Linked DNA regions of Homo sapiens: region 2 is linked to region 1. The links are contacts of gene promoters, found by promoter capture Hi-C in human tissues and cell types (Jung and others, 2019). All regions are on one chromosome and are shown on one strand. Each heading gives the region's core, a stretch centred on a gene start or on the middle of the fragment in contact. The rest is flanking DNA. Distances are from core to core; before and after follow the strand shown.

Region 1 (6,118 bases), core at 2,416-4,915:
ACCCAGATGGGTGGCCACTGGTCCTCAGTCACACAGCGGCAGGGTGAGCTCCTGATCTCCAGCAGGCCCCCTCCATCTGCACGTCCATCGCTGGAATGTAGCAGGTGCTGGGCTAGGCCCTAATAACATAGGTTCATCCCCCCACCCCAGCGCCCCCAAGAAGAAGAAGAAAGACAAGTTTCTCCACCAGGAGCTAACTGGGACTGACAAGGGGAATTCGAGAAATCAGTGCTGTTGTTTCCTGTCCCGGCTCTGTCACTACCTGGAGAACATCTCTTCCTTCCAGGGGTGTCAGTCTGAGGCCCCTTAGAGCTGTCCCTTCTGGTCAACCTTCTGTCAGGACTGGGGTCTGAGCAGTGTGGACTCAGGGTGTCATGCTTGAGGGTCCGCGTGGACAGAAATCCCAGCTACATGACTTCCCCTGTAAATCCTTCCTGGGGAATGCATGAGCTGGGTGGGCCAAAGAGGGCAGGCCAAGATGGGCTTAGATGCTCAAAGTACTGGAATCTGACTGCCAGGCGGGGGGCTGGGTTGGGGAGTGGGGGCAGAAATGGGATCAGGAATCAGAGGCCCATCTACCCTACAGCCCCAGCCCTAACCCTGAGAAGGTGACTCACCCTCCACCCCAGCTCCAAGACCAAAGAAAAACAACCTCAGAGAGAAGGGCCAGTGACTCTAGTGCCTGGACAGACAGGACAAGCTGGTGTCAAGGAAGCCTGTGCCCCTGCCTCTCTAGCTTGCCATCCCTGGCCAGCTGTGCCCCCTGCAGCCACCTTGTGAGACTTTTGCTTCCTGTTGGACCTTCCCTCCAGGCCCATGGCTGCCCACCAAACACCCAAGCTCAGGTGTCATTCATACCCACAGGTAGATGTCTGCAAAGATATTCACAGCCACACAGCCCTGGGCCCAGCACCTGGGGACAGGATCACAGGCGGACTCAGACACAGCCCTCACACAGCTATGGACTTGAGGCTCACTCTCCTCCTTACAAGCACAATCAGGTCATGGCCATGAGCACTGATATTCATGCACAAAGACATCTGTGGGGCTTTCCCCACACTGTCATGAAGGCATGCGCGCGCACGTACACACACACACACACACTCACACACACGCACGCACGCACACACACACTCACATGCCCAGTCATGAACACAGTCAAGCCCAGCGTCACAGGCAGACACAGGCTCTGACCTTTACATGGGCAAAGATACTTCTAGACTTCTCTCTGTCTCTTACACATGTACATACACACATCACAGCACCAGCCACTTGCTCACACTCGTGTGCAGACACACACAGCACAACCTGTCGTGGGCATGGATCCCCCAACACGCCCACACGATTTCACATCCATAGTAGCCCAGTTGCAGGCACAAACACTTTTGCACACAGAGACACACTGGTGTATAGAAAACACCTCTTAGGGTCATAGACCCAGAACACACGCACACACACACACACACACACACACACACACACACACACACCTCTCTCCTTGGCTTAGACAAAGCAGCATTCCTGTCCCCCACCAAATTCCCAAACAAGCCATGTGTCTAGCATTATGTTAGGGCCAATGTCTTGACCTTCCAGGTTTCCCCAGCGTTTCTTCCTATTGGGCAATCCCTATCTAGATGGTCCCCAAGATACCATTTCACACCAGAATCTACACCAACTGGAAGAGTGCCCTCTTCTAGTTCATAGGGCCGGAGAGACTGGTCTCTCTTCCTCAGTCCCTGCCACCTATGGGCCGCCAAACCTTTCCTTCCTACCCTCCCCCAACCCACCAGAGTCTCTGCGAAAGCAAGGCGAAAAACGGCATGGCCTTGGCCCGGGAATGGGAAGAGGGTCAGGAATGGCCGGGTGAGGCTGGACTGGTGTTGGCAGCAGCCTTTCCCCAGACTGGCCGAACCTCCTTCCTGAAGTCCCTGGCTGCCCTGGCCACCCCATGGACTTCTTTATGTGCTGGAAGCCTCAGGTTAGCCCAGCCCCCCGGAAAAGTGTGGGTTGGGCAGAAGAAAGACTTCCCCTTGGCTGGCTGTCCTGGGAGCAACTCCTAGCACCCTCTAAACAGAGACCCTTGGCCATGTCCCCACCCTCTCTCCCAGGAGCCCCAAACACCCAGACACAAATGCTGCCATCCCCAAACAACTGGAAGACTCGGGGTGTGGCCCCCAAGTCTCGCTGTCTCTGCTCCTCCTACCCTGGACTCTGGGTTGGCGAAAGGCAGGGAGTCTGGGGACCTGCAGGCGGTACCGCACCGTGGTGGCACTTCTTTCTGACTTTCACCCCGGGGGCCACAGCCCACTTCTCACTCACAGATCCCAAATTCTTCCTCCTCACCTCCCCCCGCCCAGGCCAAGGCTCTCCTATGTCCAGGAGGGGAAGATTCTTTAATTAAAGTTTTCCGGAATGTAGGGGGCTGGAGACTGGGGAGAGGCGGAGTGTAATTTAGAGAACTGGTTTCAGTGTCTTCCCCTCTGGCCCCTGGGACCTGCGGAGGGTGGGAGAGCGGCGATGGGGCCGCTCGGAAAACAAGGGGACTCCTGGAGCTGGGGCTCCCAAAGCGATGTTTATTCCTCACCCAGGCCCCCCAGACACGCACAGCCCCCCCCAAGCACTGCTCCCGGCTTCCCAGTCTTATTTACTAAAATGTCTTTTGTATCCACATTTCTCAGGGACGGAATTCTCCCTTCCCTCTCCCTTTCTCCTCGGTCCTCGGTTTTCCAAAAGGAAGAAATGTGACATGGAGAATTGGATTTTTGGTCAAAGAACAACAAGCCTACCCCTCCCAGACAACACATTTTCAAGGAACCCCCCTTTTGCCAGGGTGGACAAGCAAGAAATGAATAAAATCCGAATTCAATGGCATCCCGGATCAGCAAATACCATATTCACTTCAGAGGCTCAAGATGAATCTAGAGCGGTGGGGAGAATCTGATGAAATCCCCCCACCCACTCCCCTGCCCCGGGAGGAGCCCTGAAGCCTTTGGGGTCTGAAATAGGAAGGCAAAGGGGGGTTATTATGGGGAATCTCTTGATGGAGGCGCCGGCAGAGGTGGGGTGGCAGTGAAGGAACAGGATGGTTTTGCCCATGAAGACCCCAAAATGGAGAAGAGGAGTGGCTGGGCCCCAGGGACAGTGCTGGATTTCCAGAAACCCAACTGCAAGCAAATGGGGGGTCTTCGGGGGCCTCTAGATTGGGACGGGCAGAGGGTTAGGATCTAAGAATAAGAAACCTTCTGAGATGGGAAAAGTCCTCCAGCCCCTGCAGCGGGGAGCAGGGAAAATGGTGATTATCAGAGGAGCCAGGAGTTGGATTCTGAAGGCGACACCAGCAGAAAATCCAGGAGGGGTGGGCGGGTGGGGGGCTGGAGGGAGGCGAGGAGAGGAGCCCCAGCCCTGCAGCGGCCCACCCCCAGCCGGCGCCCCCACCTTCCCCGGACGCGGCGGAGAAACCGGGCCGCGGGCAGACAAGAGGCGAGTCTTACCACCAAATTGGGTAGCCAGCGAGGACCCTGGTGCCACCGAGCAGGAGGCCGAGGAGCAGCCCGAGCAGGTGGGGCTCCATTAGAAGAGGCGCCGAGGAGGAAGTTTGCCCGCGACCATGAAGAGGGGGAGCGACGCCCCCAATAGTTGGAACAAAGTCCACTTGAGATTGGAAATGACTTTCGGGCTTGTCAGAAGCGCACCTCCACCCGCAGCCGCCCCCCTCCCGAGCCCAGCGCGGAGCAGCCGGGTTTGAGGATGTCAGCGAGCAGCCAATCAGCGCCCGCGGCCTAAGGTAAGAGATGAGTCTGTAGTTCAGCCTGTCAATCACGCGCCCCTCCCGCCCGGCCCACAACTCGGGCTCCGGGAAGGGCATCGCCCAGCAAACTTGGGCAAAGCCCGCGCCCCGGACGCCGCGGGGCTTCGGGGGGACGCGGTGGGCCGGACCCTCTGCTACCGCCGCGGTCCCCCGCTGGCCAGGGTTAGGGCGCGGGGGCTTTGACCCGGGCGTTCACATGGCGAGGGCTTGGCGTGGGCATGAACGGGTGGCTCCTTTGCTGGCGGGGACCGTGACCCGTTGGGACGTGGGCCCGCGAGGAATCGAGGGTAGAAAGCACAGGGATGTTTCCAGAAGCCCCGCTCGGGCAGGTCAGGATCAGAGGGTGGGGGAACGCACCCCCTCCCAGCTTCCAGCCTCCCGAGTCCGCCCGCTCTCTGGCCTCTCGTCCTGGCCGCGGGAGGTCACTTCCCGGGTGTCCGAGGAACGTGCGGAAAAGTCCGCGGAGGCTCGAAGGTCTGGCTGCGGGCGGCGCCGGGGGACGGAGCCGAGTGTCATTTGAGTCTTTTGTCAGGGATCAGATCGGTATCGGGACCTCCTGCTGCCTTTGCATTTCCTGCAACTGACACCAGCGGCCAGTCGCATTTCCTGCTCTCGGAGTCGGGTCACTTTCTCCTCCTTGAGGGGTTCAGGCCCGACCTCTGGCCCGGGTCGGAGGCGTGACCCACAGCCTCAGTGGGATTCTCGGTTGGACCATCAGGGACCGGTGAAACGCGCAGCTCTGGCCGAGGGCGGCCCAGGTCCTTGGAAGACCTTGCTGCCCTCCGGAGCGCCCCTCACTGCCCGACCGTCCCGCCTGAGGCCCCGGTTCTACTGATAGGGAGCTCCAGCCTGGGGTTTGGCGATAAAGGCCCTTGCCCTGTGCGGACACCAAATGCCTCCAGTTACCCACCCCTCCCCACAGGAAAGGAGTCCTTCCAGGCCCCCTTCGGGCTTGCTTCCTCTCCTCTCCCTCTCCAGAGCGAGGAATTAGGTCTCAGCCCTGGGTGGTATTGACATCATGGTCAGGTTTTGGGGACTCACGCCCGGTCACCTGGGTGCCTTTCCCTAGGCCCCCTCCCAGGCCACCTGAGGCACCAGGACTCTGCGCAGCCCCGGTCTGGGGTGAAGGAAGCACTGCCGGTGGGGAGCAGGGACCGCTGTGTAGGGAACTGTGGCAGAAAGGGCAGAGAATGAGCCGACCCGAGTCCCACAGAGGCCTGGAACGGCGGGCGTTCCACGAGGTGAGGGCCATGGCTGAAGGAAGTCTTACGCCAGGGGGCCAGACATTCCTGGCCTTTGATCTGAGCCCCCCGTACCCACAGCTCCAACCTGCTGCCCCTTCTGGTCGGCGAGCCCTCTCCGCACGCGGCTGCTGCCGGCACAGGGAGCGCGGGGAAATGGCCTCGGGGGCACCAAGGGTCGGGAGAGCCGCCTGGGCTTGTCATGGCTCCTGCTGCGTTCCCAGCCCATTGCTGGACTGGAGGGGGTGGGAGGGGAGGTTGAAAGAGAGGAAGGAAGGGGAGGAAAAGGAGAATCCGAGAGGAGGAGAGAGAGAGAGGGGCTCAGAGATGAGAGAGACGCTGAGACAGAAACCAAGAAAACTGTCGGGGGGAGGCTGAGCCACCGGTGTGAGGAAGAAAGGGGCAGGGGGGAGGCGGAGAGCACCAAGGAGCTGCAAGGCGAAGAAAAATCGTGAACCTGACCAGGAGTGGTGAACCTGGTGGGGGCTGCAGAGATGGGGATCCCTAGAGATGCTCCTCATGGCTGGGCTGATTCTGGGGTGCCCTGTTTCTGATTCACCTGGAAAGAGGGTTACCATTGCCATGAATGCAGAGCCTCAGGACCAAGGCTCTGGCAGTGGAGAGCTTTCCACATACCTCCCTCTTGGATGGAGGCCTGCTAGGTCCTACCTGGAGTCCTGTCCCACCCACAGGGCTCCCAGGTGGCTTTCTGATCAGAGCTGCCTGCTGGAGTCCTGCCCAAGGGCTCGGGAGTTCCAGAGCCCCATGACAGTGGTGCTGAGAGCTGGGGAGGGCTACCTTCCCTGGCCACTCAGACACCACTGTGGATGCAGTATGGTGGGGCGACAGGGCCTGGACTTGATGGCTTCTTGGGGTCATTACTGGGCCTCAAGACTCCACAGGTGCCAACCCTGTGAGGTGGGAGCAAAAGATCCGAGGCTGTCGGTGGGAGTGTGTGTTGGCTGAGATATGCCCAGCCAGCATCCTGGGTGCTGTGGGCAAGAACATCATTCCCTGAGGGGTCATGTGTACCTGAATGCCTCCTCCAGGCAGCCTGGAGAACTCAGAC
Region 2 (6,118 bases), core at 1,942-4,441, 73 kb before region 1:
TGCTACCCTTGAAAGCTATACTGGGATTATCATTCATTCAGTGCATATTTATTAACTTTGTACTTTGTACAAGGCAGTATGCTAGCCCTGGAAACATCAGTAAAGCCAAACCGACTTAAGTCCTGTCCTGATGAAGGAGAACTAGCAAGAAATACAGTAAATATAGTAAGTATATAGTATGTAAAAGGCGATCCAAACTGGAGGAGGGAAAGGGCAGGATAAGGGTTGGGGAGTTGCAGTTTTAAATGGAGGTATGTGGGGATTGAGTTGGCCTGTGGAAAAGCTGACATTCAGGCAGGTCCTTGACTTGGAGGGAAAGGCCTGTGTGGCTATGGAAGGGAAGAGCATTCCAGGCAGAGGAATCCTCTCTGTGTGCCAGGCATGCCATGCTGAGTACTGCAAGGGCGCAGATGGATGATACGTGGTTTCTACCATCGGGGAGTTGACAGGCTAGAAACAAGATTCAGGCTTGAAGATAAATGCAGAGAAGCACTATGGCAAGGTAGAATTTTTCTAAGGGTCTCTGTTGAATAATACAAGCTAAGAAAATATGAAAAATTATTCCTATTTCAAGAATGAAGCCAGGTTAAGTGATAGACCAAAGGACCTCTACCAGGAAAGCTTCTTACTCTTGGCTCTGAGCCAATTTCCTCCTCAGAAGTTGCTGCCTCTCCCTGAGGCCCCACGCTGCCATGAGTCCTTCTGACTCTCTGTGAGTCACCCCACTGCCATGACTCCTTCGGAGGGGGTGTCTGACCTCTTGCTTCAGGCCTCTTCTGGGCCTCACAGTAACCCTTGTGAAGCTGAAGATGGGAGCTCTCATCTTCCCTAACCCAGAGCCAACCTTGGCCTCTCTGCGTCATTTGCTGCCAGTGCCCTGTGTTTGTTTTTGGGAAGAGAGGGATTTTCAGGCATCCCGTCCCTCACCCACCTGACCTAACCGTATGGATTCCTGACACCACAGGCAGAGGACTATTCTTCAGGTTCCTCTGAAGCCCACCTGTTCAGATGCTTGCTTCTTTTCCTTCTTGCCTGTTCTGACTGTGATGACAGAGACCCCGCCTCAGGAATCTCCACCTCACACTCTATTCTCATAAGTAGGTAGAATTTTCTCATCGCATATTTATGGTTGAGGAGGAGATAGATGCTGAGAAGTTAAATAATCTACCCCAAATCACACAGCTGTGAGTGATGGGGCCTCTACTTCTGTTGCACCAAGCTACCTGTCCATCAGGGGACTTGCCTCACCATTGCTTTCTGCCAGCCCTGGGCTTGCCTTAAAAAGGACATCATATGCATAAGACACTGGTTAAAAGGTGCAGCATGGTCCCTGGAGATGCTCACTCTTACAACTGGCCTGTCCTTGGGGCAGCAGCTCCTCACAGGCCCCTAAGAGGTAGACCTCCTGCCTGTGGCTGCCAGAACCCTCTTCTCCATCACAGGTCTTCCTCCTCAAGAGCCTTCTCTGGTTTCCTGTTGCTTTTTATATTAAATATTTCCCTTAGTTTAGCATCCCGAGTCTGCCTTTTGCTGATTGTTCCCTCCCTGTGTCTGCAGACAACTTCGTTTTCAGCCTTGGTGCTCTGTCTCAGCTGCTTCTACCACACACATAGGATTTAGGCGCATTCAGGACCTGTCCCTTCTTTTCAAGGGCCTTGCCAGTGCCTACTTGTTGTCATTGTCTTTGCAGTACTACGGATAACCTTCCTAGATAACCCCCCTCCAGGAAACTGTCCCCATAAACCGGGTGCCCTCCGCCATGATTAGTTTGTATTTGCGAGTGTGTTACTTGGTTGTGTTCCCTGAATATTTATTTGGTTTTCCCAGCTAAGTTGTAACTTATTTGAAGGCACAAACCAAATCTCATAATTCTATTAAGTACCTAAAAGGAGTAAATTATTGTTAATGCTCCAATTGGCTAATGTCTATTTCATATTTTACTTACCAGATTTACAAATGCTTAATATTCTGAAATATTTCACTCTCATTTACAAAAACATCAGATTCTACTAAGCAGAAAATAAAGTTTAATGCCCCCAGCACATAGCAGTTTTGAGTTGCACTTTTAAACTCACTTCTTAATCCATTTCAGGGTTTTCAATTGTTCACAGTTAATTCTTCTTACCAAGGGTGTATTACACTTGCTCAGCATTGAATGATATGGAAAGAATGGCCTTTCTTTCCTGCATAACTGACTTTACTTTTGTTCATAGGTTGAAATCAGCCCTTCCATTTCACTGCAGTATTATATTAGTGGCATTTTTATTTAGGGAAAAAAAAAAGCTTTCTTCCACTTGAACTTTTGTTACAAATCAGTTTATTGGGTCCAATCAATGGGCAAGACCTATGAAAGGGTGTGGATTATCTGGTTGGTCCTTTGTGTGGCAAAAGGCTTAGATGCTGCTTAGTACTCGCTCATTCTTCATCATGTAAAGAAGTGTTTTTTTTGAAGGATCAACACCTGACTGAGCCCTGCCTTTTTCATGGAAATGTTTTCACCTGAGTTGCTGCTTATGGTACTAAGAATTAGTTAACTAATACTTATTTAACCTTGGAACAATGTTTATCATAATCCGATTGGCAGATAGTCATTTTACTTAGGCTTTTTCTTTATAGCATCAGGACTAGCAAATCTCAGTAAAGAGTATGCTGGGAGCAATTTCTTTTTTCCCAAATAGGTTATCACTCTGTGCTTTTTTTTTTGCTTTCCGTCAAGGGGCATGTTTGGGCACTGTGGACATTAAGACTGGTGGCCACACATTAGGAAGGTGGAGGTCCCCTCTTGGGTTGAGCACCACTTTTGTTTTTAAAGCTGCATCCCCATTTCATGCTGCTGGCAGTGTTTCCCTTCAGACGAATCCCATGCAATGTATCACTTTAATATATTCGGAGCTGTTTTTCATGATAAAGCTTCCTTATGAGCACTACCACTAATTAATACACAAAATGGCCCAGCACAATTTAATAATTTGGTAATGTTTTTCAATGTTTTCTTAAAGATGACGCTTTACAAGTCAAGACCCAAACTTGCCTGGGTCATGACCTCTTTGCAGTTTTTGGAGTCTTGTTAAACAAGAAGGAAAGCAAAACATAAATTAGCGTCTCCAGTATGGTTGCTCTACATTTCCCAATCTTTCAACACTTTGAAGAGCATAGTCACTGTTAATGTAAGAGAACATCTCATGAGGAAACTGGCAGCGATTTTAAAAGTCCGGCTTTCTGGAATGAGTAAGAAGCTTCTTCCTCAGTGCCACTGTTCTAGGGCCAACATTGTCCTTTGTGAGAGAGGAGCAAGATGAGGAAGTTTGCATTATGGACTATGGAACATTAAAAAGCTAAAAAAGAGAAGTAACAGTTACCTTTAATCATACTGAGGATGTATCAGCATGTGTGGCCTTTGGCATCTGTTAGCCTTTAGGGCTATGTTCCCAAGTTTGCCATTAGAATTTAGTGTTAAAAAATACTTTAAATATAACAGCACCACTTTTTGTTATAGTAAAAATGTATGTCTTTACTCGATTGTAATTACCTCAACACCCAGCTTTTGTTGTTATTTTGCCCTTGGACTTAGGTATTTCTGTTCCTCTGGCTTAGAATGTCCTTCCCCTTCATCTTCCTAATCAACCTACTCATTCCTTACGACTCAACTCATGTATCATCTCCTCCAGAAAAAGCTTTCTCTGCCACGTGTTTCTTCCCTCTACCTGACATCCTTGTGCGTAATACCTCCACCTTTCCATATTGTACTATAATTATCTATTTTGCATCTGTCTTTCTGTGGAAGGTCTGTTGCATATTCATCTAGGAACTTGGTAAATGTCTGATGATAAGCATTTGATTTTTTCCTAGTTGATTCCTCAAATAATAATAATGATTACCCTTTAATCTGAATGCTCACAGGTGTACTTCTATCTCATATTCTATGCGCAGTCATCTGTTAAGCTAATGGCTAATTGTACCAGAGGGTCTCAACTTTGTTTCTTTGATCTGCATTGGTTTATGGTGGTACCTTGCCCATTCTTGGCACAGCAGGTGGATAAAAACAATGAGTAACATTGAGAAAGGCTAATGTGTCTTATTGACAGTAGTGGTATAATGTTTACCAAACCCAAATTGAAATTATTTTGGTTTCTTAAAATCTTTTCCCGATAGCCCATTTATTTTAATGTTCTGAATTTCCAAGATCTGTGTATAGGTTCAATGATTAGTCTTTACTGAAGACTTATCTATGGACTGAGTGTGTATTATAAATCTAGTGACATAAGTTTAAAACTTATTCCTTTTTCATTTTCCAAGTAAACTTTTTTAGTAATGTGTTTTTCTTTGTAAAGACAGGCAGTATATGATTTAGGTCTGGATCTGGTTTCCAGTCTTGGCTCCATCATGTATTGGTTATTTGGCCTTGAACACAAATGACTTGCCTTGAACACAAATGACTTATATCTGTGAGATTCAATAGCTTCATCAGTAAAATGGGGATAGTAGTAGTACTGAATTTTCATGATTATAATGAAAATTAATTGAGAGACTGATCTGGAGAGGTGCCATACTACAAAGAGGATTAAGTGGAGGTGTCCCTATTAAATGGCGAGATACCCAGAAACATTACCCTGTTGACTCCAGTATGCTGGCAACGAGGCTTTATAGTCTTTGGGAAGGAGACTGGAAGATTCTTCTCTGGGAAAAATGTACACATACTGACCTTTGAAGGACCCCCAGTAATCAGCCAGGTCTTACCTGATCATCCTATAGTGAAGCCCCCCGACACAGTATTTCCATTCATAGTTTAGCTCTTAAATGTGAATTAGCTATCCAGCAATCACCAGACACTTGAGGAAAGCCTCCAGAAAACAAATTGGAAAAAGGGGCAAGTCATAGGAAACAGACAAAACAAGGAACAGAAGAAAACATCATTTTTGCAATCTATAATATTCACAAGTTTGTTTTTTGAGACAGAGTCTCACTTTGTCACCCAGGCAGGAGTGCAGTGGTGCCATCTCGGCTCACTCCAGCCTCAAACTCCTTGGCTCAAGCGATCTGCTCACCTCAGGCTCCCAGGTACCTGGGACGACAGGCATTTGCCACCACACCCGGCTAATTTTGGTATTTTTGTTGAGATGAGGTTTCGCCATGTTACCTAGACAAGTCTCAAACTCCTGGGCTCAAGTGATCTGTCCATCTCAGCCTCCCAAAGTGCTGGGATTACAGGTGTGAGCCACCGGCCTCAGAGATCTAAAACAAGATATTGTATTTTAATTGCACAGGATGCAATTAAAAAAGAAAACATTCAGAAAACAAGAAGAGCTCTTAGAACTGAAAAATAAGTTAGTGTAAAGGTTGGAAGATAAAATTGATACTAACCTGAAAAGTATTAGAAAGAGAAAGAAATAAAAACTAAGAGTAAATAAGAAAATTAGAAGATTAGTCCTAGAGAATCAGTATCCAACTAAGAGGTTCCCAGTGGGTGATACAGAGAAAATGAATGGGAGGAAATCTCAAGGAAATGTATTTCCTAGAACTGAATGATTGGAATTTCCAGTTTAGAAAGAAGGAATCTAGTGCCAGCAAAATGAGTATAGAAAGAACCATCTTAGGATATGTAGTTTTCAAATTGCAGAACATAGGAATGAAGAAAAGATTCTGAAAGTTTTGTATTAAAAAGGTTAGAAACAAAAGATCAAAGATCAGATAGCATTTGTCTTTTAGCCTTCAGTGCCTTCAAAATTGTGAGAAAAAAATTATTTCTAACCTTTTTATTTATTTATTTATTTTTTTGAGATGGAGTTTCGCTCTTGTTGCCCAGGCTGGAGTGCAATGGCGTGATCTTGGCTCGGCTCACTGCAACTTCTGACTCTTGGGTTCAAGCATTCTCCTACCTCAACCTCCCAAGTAGCTGGGATTACAGGCACGTGTCACCATGCCCAGCTAATTTTGTATTTTTAGTAGAGATGGGGTTTCGCCATGTTGGTCAGGCTGGTCTCAAACTCCTGAACCTCAGGTGATCCACCTGCCTCGGCCTCCCACAGCACTGGAATTATAGGCATGAGCCACCACACCTGGCCTCTAACCTTATTTTTTACAACTAGCCAAACTATTAAGACAAAGGATACAATAGTAA

What was found. The method cuts DNA at HindIII sites, captures the fragments that hold promoters and counts their contacts. A contact is called where the count stands out against the background at its distance.
Region 2: a fragment that was not itself captured here is called in contact with the fragment with the promoter of WNT3 in region 1 in 3 of the 25 tissues and cell types used here (dorsolateral prefrontal cortex, mesenchymal stem cells and spleen).

Annotation. Positions count from the first base shown.
Region 1 is chr17:46,815,027-46,821,144 of GRCh38, forward strand. WNT3 (Wnt family member 3) reads right to left here and starts at 3,666. Exons shown (of 5, transcript NM_030753.5): 1 at 3,492-3,666. The coding sequence starts at 3,571. It also overlaps a transcript of LRRC37A2 not described here. RefSeq lists enhancers at 1-324, 4,721-5,308. The HindIII fragment of the contact is 29,146 bases long and covers 1-6,118 here.
Region 2 is chr17:46,742,350-46,748,467 of GRCh38, forward strand. All of the region lies in intron 17 of NSF (N-ethylmaleimide sensitive factor, vesicle fusing ATPase), which reads left to right. It also overlaps a transcript of LRRC37A2 not described here. Among named protein-coding and RNA genes, the nearest start is that of WNT3, 73 kb to the right of the region's middle. RefSeq lists an enhancer at 574-868. The HindIII fragment of the contact is 3,479 bases long and covers 1,453-4,931 here.